Regions from separate parts of the Homo sapiens genome. Here all the other regions are linked to region 4. The links are contacts of gene promoters, found by promoter capture Hi-C in blood cells and fetal thymus (Javierre and others, 2016). All regions are on one chromosome and are shown on one strand. The core of a region is centred on a gene start or on the middle of the fragment in contact, and the rest is flanking DNA. Distances in the headings are between cores, read along the strand shown. Region 1 overlaps LINC02416 (long intergenic non-protein coding RNA 2416). Region 2 has its middle 24 kb from the start of MIR4494. Region 3 overlaps HDAC7 (histone deacetylase 7). Region 4 holds the start of SLC38A1 (solute carrier family 38 member 1).

The links. The method cuts DNA at HindIII sites, captures the fragments that hold promoters and counts their contacts. A CHiCAGO score of 5 or more calls a contact.
Region 1: a fragment that was not itself captured here is called in contact with the fragment with the promoter of SLC38A1 in region 4 in 1 of 17 cell types (non-activated CD4 T cells); the score reaches 6.6 in non-activated CD4 T cells.
Region 2: a fragment that was not itself captured here is called in contact with the fragment with the promoter of SLC38A1 in region 4 in 2 of 17 cell types (activated CD4 T cells and total CD8 T cells); the score reaches 7.1 in activated CD4 T cells.
Region 3: a fragment that was not itself captured here is called in contact with the fragment with the promoter of SLC38A1 in region 4 in 1 of 17 cell types (non-activated CD4 T cells); the score reaches 6.8 in non-activated CD4 T cells.

What each region holds. Positions count from the first base shown.
Region 1 is chr12:47,366,313-47,372,694 of GRCh38, forward strand. It overlaps LINC02416 (long intergenic non-protein coding RNA 2416), which reads left to right. Exons shown (of 4, transcript NR_183615.1): 2 at 980-1,112; 3 at 3,346-3,498; 4 at 3,578-5,528. Among named protein-coding and RNA genes, the nearest start is that of MIR4494, 5.2 kb to the left of the region's middle. The HindIII fragment of the contact is 1,710 bases long and covers 498-2,207 here.
Region 2 is chr12:47,385,195-47,392,287 of GRCh38, forward strand. No RefSeq gene overlaps it. Among named protein-coding and RNA genes, the nearest start is that of MIR4494, 24 kb to the left of the region's middle. The HindIII fragment of the contact is 1,063 bases long and covers 4,934-5,996 here.
Region 3 is chr12:47,805,821-47,811,930 of GRCh38, forward strand. The region is part of intron 1 of HDAC7 (histone deacetylase 7); the gene reads right to left. Among named protein-coding and RNA genes, the nearest start is that of HDAC7, 11 kb to the right of the region's middle. RefSeq lists an enhancer at 3,112-3,181. The HindIII fragment of the contact is 4,820 bases long and covers 1-4,539 here.
Region 4 is chr12:46,263,591-46,270,292 of GRCh38, forward strand. It overlaps SLC38A1 (solute carrier family 38 member 1), which reads right to left and starts at 5,453. Exons shown (of 17, transcript NM_030674.4): 1 at 4,936-5,453. It overlaps LOC105378248 (a long non-coding RNA gene), which reads left to right and starts at 5,481. Exons shown (of 2, transcript XR_001749101.1): 1 at 5,481-5,568. RefSeq lists enhancers at 2,944-3,927, 4,853-4,912, 4,911-5,893, 5,033-5,082, 5,133-5,232 and silencers at 5,643-5,822, 5,903-6,002. The HindIII fragment of the contact is 4,151 bases long and covers 3,100-6,702 here.

The DNA.
Region 1 (6,382 bases), core at 103-2,602, 1.1 Mb after region 4:
TTTTACTCCTTTACTTTCCTAATAAACTTGCTTTCACTTTGCTCTGTGGACACGCCTGGAATTCTTCCTTGCATGAGATCCAACAACTCTCTCTTGGGTTCTGGACCGAGATGCCTTTCCAGTAACATCTTCACATTCCCCTTCAATAAAATGTGCATAGTAATAAAGCCTACTTGGGGTTGTAGCAGGGATTAACTGAGAAAACACAGGTGATATGCTTAACTCAGTGCCTGTTACATGGTAAGTCCTCAGTAAACGTTAGACACTGTTCTTATTTTTGTTGTTGTAACAAGGCTGTTCATGATATGGTCTCTACTGAGCTGTCCACATTGTTTCCATGCTACCTCCTGGTCACCTTCCACTTCCCCTGCAGCTGCCCACCCTCTGTGCCTCTGTTTCTCCCTTCCCTAGAGCGTTCCTTCCCACTTCCCACCCCTTCTTCACCCACTGCTTCTACTTACCCTTAAGACTTGCTTGAAGTATCACTTCTTCCAGGAAGCTTTCCTTGACTTCATGTGAGTTAGGTGCTCCTTCTGTGAGCTGCAATAGGAGCCTGTGCTTCCCTCTCCTATTGTATTTATCAAACGGCAACACTGTAATTTTCTACCCTCTTAGTCTGCCACCACCCACCAGTCTGTGAGTTCTTGAAATGACAAAAACTGTGATTTCTTTATCTGGGTTCCTCCAGTATTTAGCCCATAACCTGACAATTAATATTTGCTAAATGATTTAAGCGGTGAGTGAAAGAAGATTAGGCAACTCCCATGGCTACTTGTCCTGGGACCTCTGCTGACTACTCCCAGGAGGTTATTCCTTTCTGAAAGTGGGATGTAAGTCAGGCAAACAGAATTATTCATTAAATTATTATTGCTATTTGCTTATATTATTGTTCTAGGTGCTGAGACCACCATAGTGTCAAAAAACAAAATTACAACAAATTTAGTATAAAGATCTAATTGGCTTTTATTAATAATTCTAGAATCAGGCAACATCTCATCCTATAAAATAAAATGGGTTTTCCGATGAGCTGAGAAGACGAGCCTGGCTTTATAGGCAGAAAAGGGCTGAAGAAAACAGAAACAGAGAACAAAAAGCAGATGCTTTGTTTCAAGGTTAGTACCCTGATAGTGTTAAAGCAGAAGGGACTTCCTGGTCATACCATCTTAAGGTAAGCTGCTCCCCTTTTGATTAGTTGCTGTGAATCTCATTCGCTCTCTATTTTTTTTTTTATTAGAAAGCTGGCCTATTTCAGAGTTCAGTTTGATTATGTGGCATTTAACATGAATGACTCCATTCTGGTCTGCTGGGCCTAGTTCAGGAGCCCAGTCCAAAACAATAGTCTCCCATAAATTTCATTTAACAATAGTAAACAAGATAAAGTATTCTGCCTCCCCGGTGGTTACAGTCTAGAAATGGATGGGAAGATAATCAAAATAGCATTAAGTTCTAGAACAAAAGTAGAACAAAATTAAGAGTAGGGAGTGATGAGGGCAAGGAGCTAATTTAGACTGGGTGGTCAGGAAAGGCCTCTGAGGACGTGACCTTTAGGCTGAGAACTTAATAATGAGAAAGATAAAATCTTGTAAAAATCAGGAGCAGAGAAACTTGAAAGACACTGGGTGGGCATGAGCCTGCGTTTTCGCAGGCAGAGGGTCAGTGTGCCCAGGGCCCAATTTCACCAAATGAGGTCAGAAGGGGTCATGACCAGCTCCGGTAAGTCCTCTTAGGCCATGATAAGCTGTCTTGATTTAGTTCTGCCCACAACAGGAAGCCACAAAAGGGTTTTTACAAAAGGGAGTGAGATGATCTGACTTAATATTTGTGGATTACTCTGGTCTCTGTGCAGAATAGAAATTGTACCAGGTTCTCACAGTATTTCCGTGAGATGATTGCAGCTTAGAGCTAGAGATAAAGAAAAGAGGATGAATTGAGGCTGTCTTGGGGAAGATGACAGCACTCACTGATGGAGTATATGAAGGGAGTAGCACGGGACAAGAGGAATCAAGAGTGATTCCTGTGTGAGACTGGAGCCACAGTGTAGTAGATGGTGGTGTCATTTCCTAAGTTGATAAAGAGACTAGAGGAGAAGTGAGCTTGAGGGACAGAGGTGGAAGGAACCCAAAGTTCTGTTTAGGGCATATGAGGTGGAGATGCTATTAGACTTTTAAGCAGAGTATAGAGGCAACCCGCTGCCTCTACAAGCCTGAAGCTTAGTGGACAGATCAGGAGTGGAACTGTAAACCTGCCAATCATCAGCAAGGAATGACTTTAAACAGGGAGTTGAACAGATAAGCTGGGCCACGTAAATATTGAAAGAGGATGGGGAGAGGAAAAGAAAGAGAAGTGGAGGGGAGGGAAGGGGAAAAGAATAAGGTCCCAAATCAATCTTGGCCGTCCTCAAAGAGAGGAGATGGAGGAACAGCAAGTGATTGGGGAAGGAAATCCACCTAGGAGAGGGTGTGCTATAGAAGCTGGAGGAGAAAGTGAGAGGTTGAAGAAAGTGCTAAAGGATAGGGTCAGAAAAGCAACAAGTGACCAGATTTGGCAAAATAAGTCATTAATCACATTGATTAGAACCGTTTTGGGGAGTGATGGGTTCAACAGCTCAATGACAGTGAATTGAGAGAACGAGAACTGAGAAAGTGGAGACAGTGCCTCTAAACAGCACTTTAAAGACATGTTGTATGGAAAAAAACAAGATTGTAACAGGAGGGAGAAGGTCAGGGAAGAGTTTTTTTTGGCTTTGGTTGACTTGGTTTTTAAGATGCAAGATTCCGGCACCTTTGTATGCCTTTGGAGTTAGAGAGAGAGGGGCTGGATGCAGAGCCAGCCTGAAAAGGTCCTGAGAAGGTGAGGGGGGCTGGGGTCCAGGAGCTAGCAGATGGTAAGGTTGGCCTGAGAGAGCAGCCAACTCCCCCACTGAGGCCTAGGAAAGAGCACGTGGGCAGAGACAGCTGCAGGGTACAGTTGATGAAGGGAAGGTCTAGTCTGCAGCTTGAAGCTTCTTTGTGAAGTTTGAGAGGAAGACATCAGCTAGACTATGAGGGAGGGGGAGCAGGTGTTGGAGCTTTGAAGGGAGAGCAGCTATAAAATGCTTCCTTGTAGGATGGGCCAGGGAATAACCCCGGGAAGTGCAGGCGGGGCTCCAGGCCCTGGGAGAACCCATCAATATTTGTGACCCTGAATTAAAGGAAGACTAGTTAAGTAGGTGGATGATACCGTGTTGACCAAGATGGCTTGGGAATGTACAATCCTGGCATCTGAGGAAACAGACCTGGCAAGAGGCAGTAATGTGAAGTAGCCATCTCTCTGAGCATGCTTTCCTCACCACTTCTTCCTTCACAGGATCCGGTTTTGTTCAGGTGTTCACACGAATCATGAGATTCACAGGAATGGGAAGCCGAACTCATTCCCAGCTCCAGAAGTGGATGCTGATATTTTAAACCAATCACCAGATGCCATTCCTTTGATGATGATGATTAATTTGTCCAGGGGCAGGTATGAGACCCAACTTGAACTGGTCAGACAGAAGGGAAGGACATAATTCCAAATGGACACCTGTTCTCTCTCCTACCAGTGAGGAAAAGGAAACGAGATGTCCAGCTGTTGGCCCCAGTCATAAGAGGAAGCTGATGCTGCGGATGAAGAGTGGAGCAATGGAAATAATCTGGGGTCCAGTAACATTGCTAAACTACTGATTCAACTAGCCTTTCTTTTTTTCTTTTCTTTTTCTTTCTTTTCTTTTTTCTTTCTTTTTTTTTTTTTTTAAGAGACAGGGTCTTGCTCTGTCACCTAGGCTGGAGTGCAGTGGTGAGATTATATCTCACTGCAGCCTCCCACTTCTGGGCTCAAATGATCTTTCCTCCTCAGCTTCCCAAGTAGCTAGGACTATAGGTTCATGCCACCACACTGGGCTAATTTTTAAATTTTTTTTGTAGAGACAGGGTCTTGCTATGTTGCCAAGGCTGGTCTAGAACTCTTGGCCTCAAGTGATGCACCTTCCTCTTCCTCCCAAAGCACTGGGATTACAAAGGCATGAGGCACCATGCCTGACTAACCATGAAGACTGCTTTATCTCTGAATAAATCCCCTTTTTTTAAAACCCAGCTTTTGTGAGGGTTTCTGTTACTTGCAGCAAAAGGGTCCTGATGGACACAGTTGTTTTTGCAATGTATGAGAAATCCTCAAAACTGGCTTTTCCCATGCTTGCCTTCCTCTCCGTTACACGCACTGCCTAAAGCAAAGTGACTGCTTCCTCGGGAGTCAGGTTTTAAGGTCCCTGGGGTAGTTCTGCTTCCACAGTTTAGGTTTACCAAGAGGCAGATATGTTTGTCCACGAGCTGGTTTTGCCAGTTGCACTTGTTTTTGTAATTATGTAAAGCAATGAAATATGAGTGAGGGAAAGAATTGCTGTTGTCCAAAATCCAAACTGAATGCTTTCCATAAACAGTAAAGACAAGTTGCTTAGAAAACAAAGCAAATACAAAACAATCTTAGAGTTTCATGCAGGTGAGGCAAGTGTAAAATAATTGGAAAATTTTGTTAAATCTAGAATAATTCTGAACTCAGATTGTTCCCCAACTGTCCTTCAGTTCTGGCTCTACTTTAAAGCTATTGGGACTGAAAACCACTGACTTTTTAAATGACTACACATGACTCCTATTAGATGTCACATGTCTTAAAAGAGGCCTTATCCCTTCAAAATACTGTCAAATGAAAGAATATTTATATGTTTTACTTTAGTAAAATATTAAAAATGTTTTCCATTTTTAATGTTTCTTTGCTCTAACTGACTAACTGCTTTAACTGATTACCCAACTAGCTACCAGTCTGGTGGCTTCTGAGTAAATGTACCCCTGTTCCTCTTTAGCCCCTTCTCCTACCTGGTCAACCTACTGCCCTCAGTCTCTTTCCTTTCTCCATCTTGTCAGCATAGAACAGTACAGCATCAATAACAACTGATTTTTGCAAAATTATAATTACAATAGCAAGAGTATTTTTCTTTTTTTTTTTGTTTTGAGATGGAGTATCGCTCTGTCGCCCAGGCTGTTGTGCGGTGGCATGATCTCGGCTCACTGCAAGCTCCATCTCCTGGGTTCACTCCATTCTCCTGCCTCAGCCTCCCGAGTAGCTGGGACTACAGGCGACCGCCACCACGCCCGGCTAATTTTTTTGTATTTTTAGTGGAGACAGGGTTTCACCGTGTTAGCCAGGATGGGCTCGATCTCCTGACCTTGTGATCCGCCTGCCTCGGCCTCCCAAAGTGCTGGGATTACAGGCATGAGCCACTGTGCCTGGCCGAGTATTTTTCATTTTAATAAAAGTTCTGGGAGGATCTACACTAAAGTGTTAACTGCTATTTCTGCATGAAGAGACTGTGGATTTTTTTCTTATTTTCATGTATGAGGATAATAATGATGTGTACTAGTATTGACTTGGTTATAACAAACTAAAAATAATCTTTTAACCCAAGAACAAAGAATATTTTGTCTTTTTATGAGAATTTACTTTTTACAGAGAACTTTTAGATCCATTGAATCAATGGTACTTCACAACTACACTGCAAAGAAAACATTTATTCCTGCTTCCCGATGAGGAAACCAAAATGGGAGAAGGGGAAACCATGTGGCCTCAGATGACAAAGCAAGTAAGAAATAGAGCCTGTTTAGATGCCCAGGTCCCTGATGTCTGCTTCAAGTAGTTTTTCGTTTCCCTCAGCATCACTAAAGATTTAATGAAAGCAGATTGATCATAGCTAAATATGCTTCCTCTGACAGAATGAAGAGCATTTGGCAATGTAAAAAAATAGAGTTTTAAGTGATGAAAGCGCAAGTCCAGAAGGAGACTGGGAGAGGAGGAAGGCCTTCACAGCACTGTTGGGTACTTCCATACAAGGCCAGTGTCACGTAGGATACGGTGGCTTCCTTTCTTGATCAACCACCCCCCAAGACTTCAAATCAGCTCTGTTAGTCTGTACTGGAAAATGTGGGCCCACTGTTTAACCTCTTTGGGCTTCATCATTGTGTTCTATTAAATAGGAGTGATGATAGTCACAAGATTGTTGTCAGAATTTGAAATGTTGATGTATATAAAGCCCTTAACACAGCAGCTGATGGGTTCTAGCATTGTCATCATAATAAAAACTAGTAATACTGTTAGTAGTAATCACACCACTGCTGCTTTAACGGGAAGTAGCAGACTTGCTGAGGGCTACCAGGCTGATGGGCACTAATGCTGGAAGATCATGAATCAGAACAATACACTCTAAGGATTCATCAAAACTATTATAATTTTTCTAAGCTTATCTCAGTTCTCTTCATTCTTATGCTGAGAATTTGACTTCTCAGAGTTTTTTGGGCAACCTCTTTATCACCTTTATCAT
Region 2 (7,093 bases), core at 4,215-6,714, 1.1 Mb after region 4:
TCTTCATGGGCGCAGGACAAGGGAAGACTAGAAATCATCCCCCTGCCCACACCTAGAGGAATACATCTTTGACTTCTGCCTCTCCTTTATGTTTACTTATCTTATGTAAAAGGCAGATTCACTGAGCACCAGATGAATACATCATTGACTATTCTTCTACCCCCTTCTTTTCATGTGCAAAAGAATGTAATCACTTGTCTCATTTATCTACCCTCCCTTTTTTTTTTTCTTTCCTCCCTTCCCTCCTGCTCCTTTGAATATTGAAGCACTCAAAATTCGCTCTGGAAAAAGTGCACAGATTTTACTGTGGCTTGTGTCTCTATTTCCCGAGCATGTCCTCATCCTTGGCAAAATAAACCTCTAAATAGATTGAGACCCGTCTCACTCATCATAGAGGGAAGCACAGGGGCACTGGATTCACAAGGAAGGGGTCAGAAATAAACTCCTGGAAAAATAACACATTTTTAAAAAAGTCCTTCCCACATTCATCCATTTATTAAACAGTCATCCTTTACTCACGTATAATGTGCCAGGCACCAGGTTTGGGTCTGGAAAGAGAAAGATAAGGCATAGCCGCTGCCCAAGAGCCTTAAGGTTTGGTTGAAATCACATAAATCACAAATGCACAGACTGTTAGAGATATGCTAGACGCATGCCTCGGATGGGAGAGGACCCTGGAGTGAGAAGTTTTATTGTAGGAAAACACCAGATCCCCAGTGAGACAGTCTCCAGGCAACTTGAATTCACCAGCAACAGGGCCCAGGCAGTGAGAAGAGAGAAACAATTGGTTTTGCCACCTCTTTCAGTGCCACTGGGTAGCCTGGCGTCTTCACTATAAACCCCACTCACCAGGAGAAGCAGGGCAGCTTACCCAAGCACAAGCAACTGAAAGACCAGTTTACCAAAAAACAATTTGTCATCAATTCATCAAATTTAACATGTTATTTAAAAAAAAACTTTGCTTATCTTATTTATAAACATATAGTGACTTGTCTCCAATGGAACAGTTTTAGTAGTTTTGGAGAATTTCTACAGTTTTCATTGACGAGGTTTTATTTTGTCTTTGTAGCAGCATTTAAAGAAGTCTTTAAGTGTTTTCAAAACGTATTCAAAATTCAAAAATCATCCCATAACCAAAAAATCAGTGTTTGTTTCCTACAAGAAATTTTCAGTTTATACTGATTTCTTTCATGTCTTTTTGGTTTTGCCAACATTTTAGCATACCTCTTATTATTCTGCCAATTTCTCAAATTGGGGCACTATATTCTAGGAATTTCCTTTATCAATCTAACTTTTCTAACAACTTAATTCATATTTACTTGTGATGTTGTTGATCCTGTAGCTTCCAGTTTATCAGTTTACCAGTCTTTTCAGTATTTTTAGGATTTTTTAAGCCATTAAAACAAAACCCTTTTATGACAGTTTTGGATTTACACTTGGTGAATATCAAACTTGAGGCATTGGTCATGAAAATAATTATAATACAATCTTCTGGGCACCCTTACTTCCTTTTTGCTTCCTTGGCTTGTTTTATCTCAAATTTGTTCTTGTGAGAAATTTTAAATGTCCATAATTTCTTACAGAATAGTTTGGAGATATAACTAATTTTTTCAGGTGGTTTTGAGTTCAAATTTTAAACTTTAATTTAAAAACATCTCATTTGCTGTTGCTTACCTGAAAATACGCAGTTGAAATTTCATCCTTTTATCTTAAGCCTTTACTATTTTAATCTAATTTGACTTAATACAATTTAATTTAAAGTTTTAATTGCTAGAAGCTTAAAATTAAGACTGATAAACCATTTAAGAAATTTGCAAAATGATACTAAGGATTGAAAAATAGGAAAATGACATTTGAATCATTAAATGAAACAAGTTGAATATTATTTAGTAAAAATTTAAAGTTAAATAAATTGGTCATTAAGAAACTGAAATGCAGGCTGGGCACAGTGGCTCACGCCGGTAATCCCAGCATTTTGGGAGGCCAAAGTGGGCAGATCTCCTGAGGTCAGGAGTTTGAGACCAGCCTGACCAACATGGAGAAACCCTGTCTCTACTAAAAATACAAAATTAGCCAGGTGTGGTGGCACATGCCTGTAATCCCAGCTACTCAGTTAGGATGAAGCAGGAGAATCGCTTGAACTGGGGTGCAGAGGTTGCGGTGAGCCAAGATTGTGCCACTGCATTCTAGCCTGGGCAACAACAGTGAAACTCTGTCTCAAAAAAAAAAAAAAAAAGAAGAAAAGAAACGAAAAGAAAAGAAACTGAAATGCAGTTAATTGATCTCAAATCATTCTGTATGTTTTGAAGATGCCATTTTGCTCTTAATCTATAGTCAGCTCTTTCTCTTGCTCTTCTGCTAGTGATTAAAGGGTATGTTGTTTTTAGAAATAATTCTGTAAAATTCAATTAAATCCTTATATTCTATTAAAAAAATTCAGAGTGTGTTTTGTGGTAGTCTTCCCAAATACAAAAATGTCTAAGTCCTAATCCCTGGAACCTATGAATGTTGCCTTATATGTCAAATGGGTCTTTATATATATGATTAAAGTAAAGACCTCGAGATGGGGAGGTTATCTTGGATTATCCAGATGGACCCAATGTCATCACCAGGTCCTTTTAAGAGGGACCCAGAAGGGTCAGAGTCAAAGAAGATGTAACCATGGAAGTAGAGATTGGAGTGGTGCTCTTTGAAGATGAAGAAGGAGACCACAAGCTAAGGAATACAGGCTGCCACCAGCAATTGGAAGAGTCAAAGTAATGGATTATGCCCTCAGGCCTCTAGAAGGAACCACCAGTCTTGATCACCCCTTGACTTTAGCCCAGTGAAGCAGACAGAGGACTTCTGACTTCTAGAACTGTAAGAGAATAAATTTGTGTAGTTTTAAGCCACAAAGTTTGTGGTAATTTGTTACAGCAGCAACAGAAAATGAATACAGGGTGTTATTGACACATCCTCTCATCTGGTTCTTCATCCTTTCCATGCACAGGGTTTTACAGCCAGGCCTGTGGTCTACCAAGAATGTTGTTCTTCTCAGAGAAGACTAGAAAAGCTCTGCCCAGACATCGGAGACCATTTCCATCAATCTCTTTCCTGGCTGCCATATGTCCACCTGGAACCAATGAGAGAGACAACTGTACAGAGACTTTTTGTTTTTCATTTTAGTGTTGTTCTAAGAAGTTACCAAAATACATCATGAAATTATCGCAATTAAGTTTACCCAAAAGCTACAATGTACACTATTTTCAGCCCATCTATTCCCATCTCCAGCCATGCCTGGCTACATTTTCCTGTAAAGCTCAACAGCTAGAATGTGCATCAGATAATAGTGCTAAATGGTTCAAATAGAATATGGCCAGGGTTACAAAAAGCATCCACTTTGCCTGCATACACCCCTGCAAAATTCAGCTCCACAGATTTTTCCTCTTTTGTTACCACTCCAGCAATCCCATGAGACAGGCAGAAGTTGTCTAGCCCCAGAGGACCCATGAGATTACATGACATCTCCAAGATCTTAGCAAGAGTAAAATCTAAGTCAAGGACTCACATTCCTGATTAGTTGAGGACTCCAGCTTTGCACCTGTGGCTTGGAGCAGGCATGCACACACAGGCGGAATAGGTAATTTTAGCAGTGCTGCTACCAGAAGAAATTCAACATCCCCTGCTGGATCTAGCCTGCAGTGCCCTGGTTAGAACTTGATCCTCACAGCTAAGGCTTGAGTCCTTGTAATGCAAATACCCAGGGCATCCATGCTCCCTCCGATCCCAGCACCTACACCTTGTAGTCAGGAAGCCAGTTATTTCAGGACTCGGACGAATGCTGCACCTGATCCTCCTCAGGCTTCTGAGAAAGTCCTCGGTTCCCAGTAATGACTGCCGTCCTCTCAGCCAGGCGATACCTGGTTCTCATCCAAGAATTGGCCACTGCACTGGAGATAAATTGTTTGGGGATGACTTAAAGTTTGAGGATTGGGAGGAGACGTTGTGTTTGAATCCTGCCTAGAAGGAACTTTCCAGAGACAAGATGCTGGAGAATCACAAGACCTGAGTCTCACTGGCATTTCCAACTGCCCCAATGTGATTTCTAAATTGCGAGAACTCTGGGTCTTGCTTTCCTGAAGACCTAGGAAGAGTTTCTCATACTGACCCAACCAAGCTGTGATGTTATTAGCATTTTCTACCCACTGTGTCAGATAACTACACCAAGACCAGCAAGGAGCCATTGGCTTCAGAATGTGAGCCTATGCAGCAGCAGAAGGGTGTAAGACCTTCAGAGAGTCCCTTGAGGATAGAGGGTACTTGGAAAGACAGCAGAAGGGGAAGAGAAGGAAAGACCCCTTCCTTGGGCATTGCTTCCACCTGAGTAGAAATCAGGCAAGGAAAATCCTCACCAGAGGGAGAGTATATAAAACAAAAAGTTGGAGAAAAATCTCAGCATTCTGAAAGGAGCACTCTATAAGAATTTTAAATGTAGATCCTCAACTAAAAGCATCAAAATTTGGGAAGGTGAATAAATCGTATGTGTGTAATGAGTGTGGAAAGTCATTCCAGAAAAAAAAAAAAACACACCATAAAATGCATATGAAAATACATACCTACTTGAGTTATGAGGGTGGGAAAGCTTTATTTATTTATTTATTTTTTGGAGAGGGGGATGGAGTCTCACTCTGTTGCCCAGTCTGGAGCACAGTGGCACCATCTCTGCTCACTGCAACCTCCGCTTCCTGGGTTCAAGCGATTCTCGTGCCTCAGCCTCCTCAAGCAGCTAGGACTACAGGCATGTGCCACCATGCCCAACTAATTTTTATATTTTTAGTAGTGACAGAGTTTCGCCACGTTGGCCAGGCTGGTCTTGAACTTTTGACCTCAAGTGATCTGCCCGCCTCAGCCTCTCCAAATGCTGGGATTACACTGTGCCCGACCAGGGTGGGAAAGCTTTTATAAGAGCTCAGTTCTCACCTTTAAAAAATATAAACTGGGGGTGACCATTTAAATGTAATCACTATGGAAAACCCTTTGGGCAGAACCCTGACCTTATTGAACATTAGAGAATTCTTACCACGGAGAAACCATATAAATATGTGAATGGGAAAAACAGTTAACTACGAGTCACACCTTATTTAACATGAGGAACTTGATGGTGGAGAGAGCTTATTCTTGTAAAGAGGGTGCAGTCCTACCAACCTTAGATAGGTCACAGGCAAATCCACATGTGCTCTGGGACATAAAATTATGCATTACTATATATTGTAGCAGACACCACAAAATCAAACCTCTAGAAATACAGTCATTGTGGGAAATCCTTTTTTTGGGAGTTCAAATTTTACTACATATCAGATTATATTAAGGTGACGGTCATTGTGAGAAAATTTCTTTTTAAGGATACTTGCATATGGCTTACACGGGAGATAGACAGATGATAGATGACAGATAGATAGATAGATAGATAGATAGATAGATAGATAGATAGATAGATATAGATATAGATTTTTTATTTTTTGAGACAGGGTCTGACTCTGTCACCCAGGTTGGAGTGCAGTGGTGTGATCTCTGCTCACTGCAGCTTCCTCCTCCTGGGCTGAAGCAATCCTCCTGCCTCAGCCTCCCAAGTAGCTAGGACTACAGGCGTAAGCCACCTTGCCCGGCTAACTTTTTTTTTTGTAGAACAGGGTTTCACCATGTTGGCCAGGCTGGTCTCAAACTCCTGAGCTCAAGTGATCCTCCTGCCTTGGTGTCCCAAAGTGCTGGGATTACAGGCGTGAGCCACCACACAGCCAGGAGACAGATCTTATAATAAAATATGCAGATGTTAAAAGACACACTTAGGTACAATAAAACTTTAATGAGTTTATTTGAGCATTCAGTGATTCGTAATTCAGTCAGCACCAGACAGGAAGCAGTTTGACATTTCACCTAGGGGGCAAGAGGGGAAACTTTTATGAGGTGTAGTGGAAAGTCCTAGTTAGAGGTTAGTTGGTGGATTTTCTGATTCGTTAAGCTTAAGTTTCCTTTTAGTTTTACATTAAGTTTGGGCTAAGGTTTTCTTAAGTAAGAACCTGAGGTACTGAGGCTATCTCAGACTAATGGCCTCCCAGTTAATTTATTTAACATGGGAAAGAGAGAGCAAGAAGGAAAGAATAGGAAGGAAGGAAAGAAGGAAGGAAGGAAGTGGGGAAGGAAAGAAAGAAGGAAGGGATGGAGAGAAAACCTTTGGGTAAAATAAAGCTCAAAGGTTTTTTTTAGTCCGAAGATCCCACAAGCAAATTCTGACAAGGAAAAACATCAGAATTCATGGGCATGGGAGCGTTGCAGGAGGAAGAAGGATGAGAAGCAGGGATGCTGGGTCATCCCCTCTCACATTTAGGGGTCTCTGAAAGAGAGGCAACTGCAGACCAGGCCAGCACTGAGCCAATAACCAACTCCCTGCTGTGAGCCTTGCCAATGTGTTGCCCCTGTGGCCGCCACTCCCCACCTCACATACCCACACACTGGCAGTGGGTGCTTCCCAGCAAAAGCACAGGGGGCCCAGAAGTCAGCCATGACAACATCGCCTTGTTCTAACTAGACTCGAGGGCTGAAGCCAGTGACGTTCAAGGGATGTGGGTTTTCTGAGGTCTGGCGAGGAACCCTGGCAGTGTCTGTCTCTGTCACCGTGTTTGGAAGAAGGCTAATTGTTCATCCCAGGCCAGTGTCCAGCGAAGCTGGATCAGTTTCCTCTCCTTCCACTCCCATCTACATGCTAGGAGGGGCTGGGTGCATTGTGACCAGCCAGGGCACGGATTTGGCCCTCCCTGCAGAGCCTGCTTCTGTTCCTTCTCCCTTTCCATCTCCCAGAGTTCTCACCTACCTCCCACCCACCTCCTTGAGATCCGGTTCTCTAATAAAGCTAGTCGGATGAATAAGCCAAGGCTCACAGAGGGCTATTTTGGCAAGCATACACCTATGCTTAGGAGGATCCCCCAACAAATCACTAAAATAGTCAGACCTCAACTGGGCTAGAATGCCAGGAGGGTCCAATCAGAACTCCTAGCTCTGCTACACATAAGAAGAGTTAGATGAGTTTTCTCCAATACTCAGACGCCTCATCTGTTAA
Region 3 (6,110 bases), core at 880-3,379, 1.5 Mb after region 4:
GGAAACCCAAAGGTCAACCCCAAATGCAGGTACTACTTCCCTGGGAAGTCACTGATCTAGGGGTTGAAAAGATGGAAATATGAGTGAAACCTGGTTCTCACTTTCAAGGAGTTTAGAATACAGCCTGCAGCCTTAAACATATTTGAACAAGTACAATACTTGCAGATACTAAAAAAAATTCAGAGAGCCCAAAAGTTGTTAGGATAAGTTTCTCATTCATCCCAGACTCCCTAGAACTTCCCTGGAAGCCGCCCTTTCTAACAGCTTCTTGTGTCTCCCTTCCAGAAATTCTCTATACTGCTCATTGATTGGCACTGAATGCTTCTTGCTCAGATTTATCCAGAACCCAGCAGGGAGCTGAGAGTGGGCTGGAAGCCCCTGCCACATGAAGTCTGGCAGGCCACAAACTGTGAGGGAATTGAAGGTCTAAAGCACACAGGACATTGGCTTTGCGGTCAGATGGGCCTGGGTTTAAGCCCCGACTCCCTCGGTGACTGGCAAAGCAAGCCAGAAACACAATTTAACCTGCTTAAGCTGCCCCACCTGTAATCAGGAGATAAGAATACCTACTTCAGGCTGGGCGAGGTGGCTCACGCCTATAATCCCAGAACTTTGGGGAAGTTCTGCCCTGGCCAAGGCGGGCAGATTACTTGAGGTCAGGAGTTCGAGACCAGCTTGGCCGACATGGTGAAATCCCATCTCTAACAAAAATACAAAAATTAGTCAGGCATGGTGGCGGGGAGCATGTAGTCCAGCTACTTGGGAGGCTGAGGCACAAGAATCGCTTGAACCCAGGAGGCGGAGGCTGCAGTGAGCTGAGATTGCACCACTGCACTCCAGCCTGGGCGACAGAGCAAGACTCCGTCTCAAAAACAAAAACAAAAACAAACAAAAAGAATACCTACTTCAAAGAGGTCACCTGAGATTAGCAATGCTGTCTGTGATGCACCCAGCACATGGTGGGTGCTCCCTTGTGGTAGCGAGTATTAGTTTGCCTCCTGTACTTGTCTGCAGCCTCCTTCCTGGCATTAGCGTTTCAGTGTCTGCTCCCAACTCTCCTCCCTCCTCTACCACAGACCATTTTCTCCTGAATGCATGCCCCTGCCCCATCTCTCTCTCTCTCTCTTTTTTTTTTTTGAGATGGAGTCTCGCTCTGTCACCCAGGCTGGAGTGCAGTGGCACAATCTCAGCTAACTGCAAACTCTGCCTCCTGGATTCAAGTGATTCTCCTCCCTCAGCCTCCCAAGTAGCTGGGACTACAGGCATAAGCCACCAAGCCCAGCTAATTTTTGTATTTTTAGTAGAGACGGTGTTTTGCCATGTTGGCCAGGCTGGTCTCGAACCCCTGTCCTCAGGTGATTTGCCTGCCTCGGCTTCCCAAAGTGTTAGGATTACAGGCGTGAGCCACCGTGCCCAGCCCCCTGCCCTATCTCTTATCCCCAGCCTCTCCCAACTATGCTCTCTTCCCTTTCTCTTCCACCTGAACTTTTGTAAGCGAACACCTTATTATGTGCCAGGAGTTGTTCTAAGTACCCTACATTTGCTAACTTATCTAGTCCACATGACAAACCTATGAGGTATTTACTGTTTTATCCCCATTAGATAAATGAGTACGCTGAGGCCCAGCAGTATTAGATAACTTGTCTGAGGTCACAGACAAGTGGCAGAGGTTGAGCTGGGACTTGAGCCCAGGCAATTGGGCTTCAGAATCCACGCTCTCAACCAATACACTCCACCCCTCCTCCCCAGCATTCCCATTCGCCACAGGCCAGCCAGCAAAGGACACATGCAGGACCTAGATGGGCATGCAGAAAGATGGAAAAAAAAAATCACACAGCCCCACAGAGACCCGTGCCAGCAGCAATCCCCAGCCCTGCGCAGGTGAGAGGGCAGAAGCTATGTCATCTTTGGGTGCCCATGAAGACAATCTCAAAGAATCATTTGGAGCAACTGTTGACTTTGTAGAAACCAAGCAATGATTTGGGACTGTGTGCTGGAAACAGGGGGCTGGCAATGGGTTGGGGTCTTAGAGGACCCTCAGCTCCAACTCCCCTGCTCTCAGTGCCCTGCCATATCCCTTCTCTAGAAGCTCCCAAGTCCCTCTAGGACTCTCTCATTAGCGTCCCAAAGCAAGCTGCACCATTTCTCTGTATAGGCAGAGGAGCCAGCTGCCCATCAGGGCAGAGGCTCAGCTGCCAGGTGAGCCAGCCGGGATGTCTGCCTACCCAGACGAAGGCCTCCATCAGTCCGAGGCAAGAGGACAGAGAAGCTCCTGCACACCAAACAGGAGGCTGGATGTAAGGGTGGCAACAGTGAGCATGCCTCTTTCTCCGCCACCTCAGGGCAGCTGGGGCCCTGAGGCAGCTATTTTTAGCTCTTGACACCTGGGTATTTTGCAGCCGCAGGATGTCCGGTTTGGAGTCTCTTTCTGGGAATCCCACATGCGGCTGTTGTAAACAGCCCCACGCAGCAGTGGCCTGAGCTGGGAGCCAGTGTCGCCCCCCCACCCCACCTCCACTTCTGCTGTTTGAGATGAATCAAACAGGAAGCAGATGTAACCATGGCAGCAGCGGCTTGAGCTCCCTGGGGGTGGGAAAGCATCCTCCCTGGTTCTTTGTCCCCCACCCCAGATCCCCAGCTCCACCCTGTGGCCTCTCCTCAAGGATGAAGACCTGGCAGAACCTGAGGCCGGGGAGCTGGGCCATTCTGAGTTGCGTATGGCTGTCGGTTTCTGGGTCTGGCACTCTCTGGAGACCCTTGCTGTCCTCTGACAGAGAAAAACAGGGGTCCTCCCAGCCCTGTCCAACTCCCGGGACCTCTCGGGCCACCACTCAGCCTTCCCTGCAAGTCCATTGTGAAGGGGAGGGCATAGCTACTTCCTGCGGTGGCAGGCCTGGAGGGCCTGCATCTACTTCCTATTACCCATGGCCTTCAGCTTATAGCCTGGCCTGCCCCTGCACTGCTCTGCCCACTTAGGGAATTCCTGAGCCAGTGGGCTCCCCTAGTCCACACTACCCTAAGATTTCTCAGTTCCAAAAAGCCCTCAAAGACATAAGTTCCACATTCATCCTCACTCCTCTGCTCCAGTATCTCCAGTCCCTGAGATAGGAAGTTCACCATGATGTCTAACTACCATCTTTCCTATCATAAGCAAAACATCCTGAGCAGGCAAGATTTGAGGCCCTATCTGTAACATGGGGATAAGTCGGCCAGTTTCTGCCTTCATCTCTCCCCTTCGCCTTTACCCCTCTGGTGCCCCACTTAGACCAGTTGCTCCTTTAGCAGCCAGTGTGAGCCAGTCTTTCTCAAGGGCCAGTGTTTGCCCCAACAGGAAGCACAGTCACCGCCCCAGGCTGCCTCTAGGGGCGGCTCCTTCTCCCCTCTGAGGTGTCACACTCATTCCCTTGCTCTCCTTGTCACCCCAGCTCCTGGGCCCTCCTCATGCAGACCCTGCCCCTCTGTGTACCCTACTCCTGCTTTGCCCACTGGTTCTGCCTCTCCCAGCTGCAGGCCGAGCGAGATGTGCCTTCCTCACTCTTCTCACCTGTGCCACCCACAAGGCCACGCAGCCCATTCCCAAGACTGCCAGGGAAATGTTTAAGTTACAATATCAACAATAGTTATATTATTTTAATTAATTAATAATATTAATAATGATCAACAATCATGTGTTAATGCTTACTGTGTGCTGGCTATTATCCTAGGCATTTTTGGCGGGGGGAGGGCAACATCCTCCCACTAAGCGATTTTTATTTATTTATTTATTTTGAGATGGAGTCCCACTCTGTCACCCAGGCTGGAGTACAGTGGCACGATCTTGGCTCACTTCAACCTCTGCCTCCCGGGTTCAAGTGATTCTCCTGCCTCAGCCTCCTAAGTAGCTGGGATTACAGGCGTGCGCCAACATGCCTGGCTAATTTTTGTATATTTAGTAGAGACGGGGTTTCACCCTGTTGATTAGTCTGGTCTCGAACTCCCAGCCTCAAGTGATCCGCCCACCTCTGCCTCCCAAAGTACTGGGATTACAGGCCTGAGCCACCACACCAGGCCCCCACTAAACATTTTAATTGTACTATTGCAAGTAGTCCTCACAACTCTGTAAGGCAGATACTGTTTTTTTGTTTGTTTGTTTTGTTTTGTTTTTGAGACAGAATTTCACTCTGTCACCCAGACTGGAGTGCAGTGGCACAATCTCAGCTGACTGCAACCTCTGCCTCCCGGATTCAAGTGATTCTCCTGCCTCAGCCTCCCAAGTAGCTGGGATTACAGGTGCAAGCCACCATGCCCAGCTAATTTTTGTATTTTGGTAGAGACGGTGTTTCACTATGTTGGCCAGGCTGGTCTCAAACTCCTGAACTCACTGAATCCACCCACCCTGGCCTCCCAAAGTGCTGGGATTACAGGCGTGAACCACTGCGCCCGGCCTATATACTGTTATTATTCTCATTTTGCAAATGAGGAAACTAAGGCTAAGAGAGGTTCAGAAACTTGCTGAGGTCACACAGATGGTATGTGGAGCTGCTGGGACTCCAGAACCTAAGCTTAGCATCGGTACACTGGCGTGGACTGCTTACTCAGCCTGCCTCCTAGTAGTGGCTGAGGTGAGACCACCAAGGGGACAAGGGGATGCAAGACACAGTGAGGCCCTAGGGTATGCTCCCAATGCCAGCCTGTTCCCACAAAGTGTGCTGTGTTCCACCCCTGCCATCCTCAATTCCTTTTTCATCTTCTATTTCCCTTCCTTTTTAAATGTACATTTTACCATTTTAAAGTGTACCATTTAAACACTTTACAGTGTTTCCTGTTAGCTGCCTCCAGCAGGGTATAACTAAACAAGCAAACCTCCCAGGGCTGCCACAGAGGATCAAACGCTGCGTGAGCTCTCTGGAAACTGTCAAGCCCTCTACAAAATGCGGGTTGCATAACCAGAGCAAGTCACCCTCAGAGTGGGTACTCGGGGGTAAATTCTCTTGGGAGGAAAAGGTCTCTCTCTCTCTCTCTCTCTCTCTCTCTCTCTCTCTCTCTCTATCTCTATCTCTGTCTCTCACTCACGGGCAGGCCTTGGGCAGGTGGAAGCGCTGGAAGCACCCACAAGTGCAAAAGGGAGCACCTACCTTCAGGGCCACTTTCTGGGGACTAGGAACACAGCCGCACGGCTATCAGCATCCCTGGATCTGGGGCAGAGGAAGGCAGAAGCCACAATGGAGACCCTGGTCTGCACTCAGTAAGAACCAGGCAAACCGAACTGAGGCATCTCGGATGTGAATAGCCACAAGCTGTGAATCCTGACACTCACAGGGATGCCACATTAACATTAATGACAGTAAATACCCTAGAGGTCCCATCCCAGTGGTGCCCTAGAATCCCCCTCCTTTTGCCTATTACTTTGGAAGACAGCAGAAGTCTAGTGGGCAGATTCTCCACGTGACCTGATTCCCTTTTGCAGCCAGGCTGCCCTTGAGACTTGGTTGAAGGGGTTTTTCCAGATCACAAATCCAGCTAGGGTGCTTACACTGCCTTCAGGTCACTCAACAGACAGATGGCATGGTCCTGGGTACTGATTTGGACAAACCAGCTGTAAGGACAATTTCTGGCCAACTGGGAATTCCGTTAAGATGAAAATTTACTGTAATGGAAGGTGGAAATCACTGACTGAAAAAACAGTATATGCAGAGTAATCTCATTTTCATAAAAATTACAACACATAAAGACACATACGGAAATGGAAAGATGTGCAGTGATCTCTGACTGATGCGTCTGTGATGTTTTTTATTTTTTAGTTTTTGCTGGTCTGTCCTGTCTGAGTATCCACAATGCACATGGACTGCCTCTGTAATAATTACGCAGCATATATACGTACATAGACACAGCCCATGGTAGCAAAGTCAAAGTGTGACCTCGGGCTCCCGTGAGCATTAGTCCACAGGGTTTTCACCGCCCCCGGGTCTTCTTGGACCATATATCCTCTGAGGTTCCGTGTTATCTACAACCTAGCGTCCTCTGCCCCTCCTGAGTCTCGCCAAGGGCCTATAACACAGAGCTGGGCACAAAGTCAGGACTTACTTAATGAATGCCTTCTGGCTGAATAATGATCATTTCCTGAAAGAAAT
Region 4 (6,702 bases), core at 4,203-6,702:
TCTGACCTGTCTGTCTCCTGCTCAGAGCCTCTTTCTCCTATACCTTGGTCCATAGCCTATCCCTTTCTTTTTCCTTTCCATTGTCGCTTTCTTTTCCAACCTTCGCCATTCCTAAGAGATGGAAACTGAGATCTACACATTAAATCTTCATGTGGCTCTGGCTGTATCACTGGACAGGCGTCTATGCCTGGGAAAATTCAGGTTATAAACTGTAACCTGAGGCTGTGGCTCCATGATGTCAACAAATGGTTGGTTTAGTAAAATCAGGGGGAAAAGTCAGTCAAGCTCATAATTTCACACTACTAAGACTAAGACTTTGTCAAGCAACATATGGAGGTCCTCATTTAATTTCTGATGTTTGTTTTGTTTTCCTTGCTTTAAATCTAAACCAATGCATATCAAAATCACCCCTGATATTTTCTAAGCTCCCATATTTGGGCTCCATCCCAGGCCAACTAAATCTGAATCTCTGGAGTTGAAGTCTTGGCACTGACAGCTTTTAAAACACCCTAGATGAGTCTAATGTGAAGTCTGCTCTGAGACTCACTAATCTAAAACCATCACCTGACCCTGAAGATTAGCAGCATGCTTAATGCCAGATGACTATCATCTTGAATAGTTTTTTTAAACTTGTTCAAGGACTTTCTCAGCTCTGCTCTCATTGTATCTTCACAACTCTGAGGTACGCAGCACTGATACTATTATTAGCATTGGACAGATGAGAAAATGAGGCATAAAAATGTGAAATGAGTTGCTCAAGGGTACCCAGCTAGTTATTGCCAAAGACACATTGTAACCTCACTTGAAACAGAGTTACTTACTAATAGTAGAGGAATTCAGTGATTGGGAAGGTAACATGGTTAGGGGAACTCCTCTGTTATTAGTAAGGTTATCACTAGAAAACAAATATGTGATCAATTTTCAGAAATAAGTACAACAATATTTTTAAATTTAAAATCTTATTTTAAATCTAGGGTCAGTGTCTTTTTTTAGGTTATTGAAGTTAATCTTTTAATTTTACTTAAAATTTTTTTATTTCAATAGATTTTGGGGTATCAGTGATTTTTGGTGGTTATATAAATGAATTGAAAGTGATGAAATCTGAGACTTTAGTGCACTTGTCATCTGAGTAGTACACATTGTACCCAATCTGTAGCTTTTTATCTGGCATCCTCCCTTCCAACCTCTGGCTTCTGAGTCTCCACAGTCCATTATATTACTCTGTGTGCCTTTGCATACAAGATGTCTTTTTCGAAGTCTGTCACACATTCTTCAAAGTACTTCTGTGCACATACTTCTCCTACCTCCTCACCACCTTTCATAGATGTATATTCTCCCAGAGACTAAAAAGATCCAGGTAGTTTCCATCAAGATATATTTTCAGAAAAGTATTTTTAAAAGATTACATAGTCACAGAATTTCAGAGGTAAAGGGAACTTTACTGATCAACTTTCTCTCCCTCCTCTGGTAGATATGTTTAATTCAATACATATGGAATGCTAACACTATACCAAATACTTCACATTCATTATCTTCATTAAATCTTTACCATCACTCAGTAAAGTGGGTACCACCAACACTACCACCAGCATCATCATTCCCATTTAGCAAAAGAAAAAACTGAGGCTTAGAGATGCCAAACACCTTGCCCAAGATTCCTGGGTGAGTAAGCTGAGGCCTGATATTTATATTTGACTCAGAGCCTAAGCCCCTATTCACCACCTTCCATCACCTGGAGTAACAACAGTCCAAAATGTGAAGGATAAACAAATACTTATGAAAATGCCAGTGAGGTGATCAGTGAACACTTCTCCCAAGAGGTGGAAAAGTGGCATCAGGGATAGGCCATCACAAGTACACAGGATTTCAGTAGGCATTCTGGACTGGAATCCAATCCACACAGATATTGAAGCAGAAAAGTGATAGGGAGGGAATAGGGTGAACTGTGAGAAAGAAAATATCAAGAGAAAAAATTGGAAAGAGATGAGAAGGCAGATTGTGAAGGGTCCTAAGTGTATGGCTAAGGAATTTAGACTGTATTTGTGTGCAATGGAAACCCTCAGAGGTTTTTAAAAGCAAGGTCCTTTAACAAAATGTGAACTGAATTTTAGAAATATAAACCTCATGAAAGAATGGAGATTTAATTAGGGGAGCATAACTTGATATGGAGGAGAGACCAACAGGAAAGCTGTTCCACCTCAGTAACTGGCTGTTTCACTCTTAACCATATGTTGTGCTTGCATTTTTCTCCACCGCCCACTCCCACTGCCCCTAGGTTGTTCAAGGCACCTCTATATCTGTTTCATATGTCTCCAAGTCTAGGTAAGGTGACAGGGACCTGAACTTGGGCAGTGGAAATGGAGACAAGAGGACAAGTGTGAGGGGTATTTTCAAGGGCCTGGTCACTGCTCAAAGTGGGAAGGGCAGTACGAGAAGGAGAAGCAGAGAAGAAAAAGACTCTCATTTTCAAACTTAGGAGAAGGGGAACAGATGAGATATAGAACGGAAGGGATGGCCAATAATATCACAAAGAGATGAACAAGATGGCCTGATCAAGGTCTCAAGGTCTCGATCCAACAAGTATTTATTAAGCAGGTACTATGTGCTGGACATTAGAGGAACAATGAGTAAAATCGGTTTTTGTCCACAAGCATCACCCAGAGTAAAGAAAAGAGTAGCAATAGTCAGATATCAGAAACATGGTGCTCCTTTCATTAAATGGCCTTAATTCATGAAGCATCATAAAAAATATACATAAACAACATACATATAGGTTTAAAGCTCCAAAACACCTTTAAAATCTATTCATCTATCTGTTCAATTATATTACAGTCAAAGAAGAGTGCAATAAGTACTTGCTGTTCCTTCTTCCTGTTCCTTCCGCTGGCCTTCTTCCCTCAATTATGGAAATAGCTGATCCCTTTTCATCATTCGGGTCTGAGGACAAATGTTATACCCTCACACCGCCCCTCCCGGTGAGTCACTCTATTTCAAGCATCCTCCCCCATCACATGATCCTGTTTTATTTCTTCATTGCACTAAGAATACCTGAAATGTATATGCCTACATTTATATAGTCTATTTCCCCCTGAGAACGGAAGCTTCATAGAAGGTGAAACAAATCTTGTTAGTTGCTGCCAGTCGCACAGTAAGCCCTCTGTAGAAAATGTTTATTGGCCACATTTTTTTAAAAAGCGAATAAACCTCAAGATTAAGACCTCAAACCAAACTATTCCAGTTTCCAATTGCTTACAGCGACATACTGAGAAATCGAGTGACTCTCAAGAGAAAGGCCATTTTGAGGCTGGGGTCGAACCAAAATCCAGGGGGTCCACACCAGGTCAGTACCCCGGAATTGGCTGTTTTGCAAGATTTCGGGAGTACCAAATTGGCATGAGACATTTGACAACGAGGCCAGCCATGCACCGAGCTCAGGTTTTATTTCCGTTGTCCTTCTGACGTCAGAAAAAGCACGAGTTGCTGCACAGTTTCTTTTATCAAGGTGACAAATTACACCCTCGCTGGGCCCTGCATTCTGCAAACCATAAATTTATTTTCCTCCTCCCCCTTATATTGAAAAATGTAAAAACCCACTGCAGAGAGGTCAAAACCCCTTCCAAACGCAAATAAATACCGTTTTCTAGCAGAGGCGTCTTTTTTCACTTTTGCTACACACATCACCGCGGATTCGTCCGAGAAAGTACGTGATCCTGGCGGCAGTTAGGTTTCTAACAGAGAACGAGGGTTTGTACAAACCCCGGGTCCGCGCCGCAGAGCAAGACAAAGGACTCTGAATTGTAGCACCACCTTCCCCAGCCCAAGGCAGCCTGTGAAAGGCACTGGGAGCGGCGTGACGCGGGTACCGCGAAATTCCTTTTGCTGCCATATGCACTTGTGCCTTCTCTAACTACAGTTCAGCACAAACCTCAGGCGGGCGATTTGGCAGGCAAACGGTGCCCAGGCAGCCGGGTAACCTACTGGGTCCCAGTGGGTGCTGGGGAGCCCCATGCGCCAGGAGGTGGATAATTTAGGGGGCAAGGGGCTCGCACAAGGGCGAAGATGCGCTCTCCTCCCGGCACCGACCCACGCGTTTAAAGGCCTCTGCGGCAACGTTTAGGGACGCGAACTAGGTGCCGGGGGTTGGGGAGGAGGTGGGACTGGAAGCGAGAGCAGTCTGCGCCCAAGACCGCGCAAGAGGTGGCCTTTTGTTCGCTGGCTCCAGCACATCCCGGCTCTCGAAAAAACACTACCTCTGTCCCCTGCCACCCTCTGCATTTTAGAAAATCCTCTTCAGGGCAGGAAAGGACAGTGAGTCACTGCAAGCATCCTTTAGTAATTTCTCCCCGCGCCCTCCTACTTCCCCGCGTTACAGAGGGGCAGAGCACCAGGAAGGACGGCAAACATGCCCCGGTTTAGTGGTGGTCCGCGGCCGCTACCCAGCCGGCCGCACGCAGCACCCCCCGGACATCACACGATCTCCTCTGGGCCTTGCGGACACAGGAAATTTTCACCAAAGGCCGGGGATTCAAACACTCCCAGAACACGGTCGCGCCCTCGGGTCAGCTGCGCTCTCCCTCCAGACGTGCGTGGTTCCTGGCTCTCGTAAAAATGGAACCAGATCTGGTACCACACTCTGCCACAGCCACAGGAAAACACACCAAAGTCACAGGAAAACAAACCAAAAAGTAAGCCACAGCCCACGCAAAGGTGAACTCGGGGGCCCTGGCGCTTCCTCCCGCTGCCGCGTGCGTTCGGGAAGCACAGGAGACCTGGACTTTTCCTCTCCTAAAAGCAACATCCGAAAGCATCGGGCACAGCCGAGCTCTCTCTGCTTTCACGCCCGCAGAGATGATTTCTACGTTACCTCCTCCTCCGACATCTAAATCTCCCCTTGCCGCTCGCCCAGCCCTCCCCGGGAACGGATAATCACCTTACCTCCGGAAATAAAGGGAAAGGTGGCAAAAGGCGATGTGGAGGTGTCCGCCCTTCCGGGGTTTTTACCCTCGGCAGTTTGATGTCCTTTGTGTCAAGGTCTGGCTGCGGAGGCCGGGAAAATGTGGCCCCCGTCAGTAAGGGTTGGGCAGGGAGCTTGGCGTGGCCTGGCGGATTTCGGAGGAAGGTGAAGGGCGGAGGCTCCTGGCGACCTTCTGGCGGAGTGGCGTGGCCGCCCCAGTCCGCGCTCGCCTGGCTCTCCTCCTTTCCGGGCCGATTGCATCAGAATCTCCCCTCACCACCAACCCCCACTCACACTCTGCTCGCCGGCCTCGCACTTACATCGACATGCACCGGCGCTGAGGGTCACGAATCGGAGTCATTCTCCTACTGGGGGACGCGTGGCCCTTCCGCAACCATGGCTTGTGATGGTTTAACGCGGACAGGCCATTCCTCCCCGTCCCGCGCGCGGTCTCCTCCCCTCCTGTGCGCCCGCTCTTTAACCAAAGCTGCGTGTCAGTGAGCCGTGCCGGTCACATGGTGTCACTGCTGGCGGCCGCACCTTGCTGCCTCCCTCTTGCAGCTCTCTGACGATGCAGCGACCGCGGCTGGCGGAGATTGAGCAACGGGGAAAGGGTGAGGGAGGGGTTGCGGGGCGCGCGTGTGCCCGGCGCACTGAAGCTGGCACCGGGAGCAGAGGCTGCGCGCCGCCCTGGCACCTGCCCCTCTCCCTCCCGGGGCCCGGCGGCGTGTTCGGAACCCAGCTGCGGCTGCAGCTGGAGAATGAGAGCCCTTAGGGATGGGGGTGGGGCGGCTAAAGGGGCACCGGCGGAGGACAGGAGGGCTGTGCGTTCCGCTGGGGCCTGCATTTTGGGTACGCCAGAGCCCCGCCGGGGCCGAAGGAGCGAGGGAGTTGCATTGTGGGAAGGGCGCAGCATGAGGATGGCCGCGGGAGTGGCAGGTCCGAGCGCAGCCCGGAGAGCCGCGGGCAGCGCCTGGGACTACGGGCAGCGTTGGAGCGGAGGGCTGGCCCTGGGCACAGCCTGCAGATGGCCCGGGTTGGCGGGAAGGGGACCGAAGTGGCAGGGGCGGCGGGGAGCTCGGGCACCTTTAAAAACCCTTTGTCCCTAACCTGAAGCGGGAGGCACCTCCCCTCTTCCGGATCCAGCACCCGCAGACCTGGTCAGCCCTTCCTGAGATCTGCCCTGTGGAGCTCTGCTTTGGGGACTGGGTGTGAGGTGAACCAGAAGGATTTGCTGAGCACCGAGAAAGCACCGGCCTAGGCGCAAAGAGCCGGGGGCCAGCTCTTGGAGGGCCTGGAGACCCCACGTGGTCCCGACCGAAGGACCTGGTGCGTCCAGGTTAACGGAGCTGGGGCGCTCCAAGTCCGGGGGACGAGGGAGCGGCATGGAGGGGAGCAGGGGCAACTGGGCCTGGTTCCCTTTTTTCCCGCTTACTCTTTGTTTCAGACACAGCCCCCTTTCACTGGCTGGGCACTTGCTTGCAGAGGAGTTGTGTCTTAAAATGGCGACAGGAAATCCCACCTGCGCCTCAGCCAATTAGACTGTCATAGCGCGAATTTGCAGGGTGGAAACGCGAGCTTTTTATTGATAGGGAAGGTTCAGTCTCCTGTTCATGGTTCATCAAAACAGGAAAGGGAAGGTGAATCATAATTCAAAAATTAACTACCTGGAGCGTTTCAAGTAGACAGTAGTCATTGTATTTGGGTGAATTTTGCTTTTTCATCACCACTGGAAAAGCAAGATGATA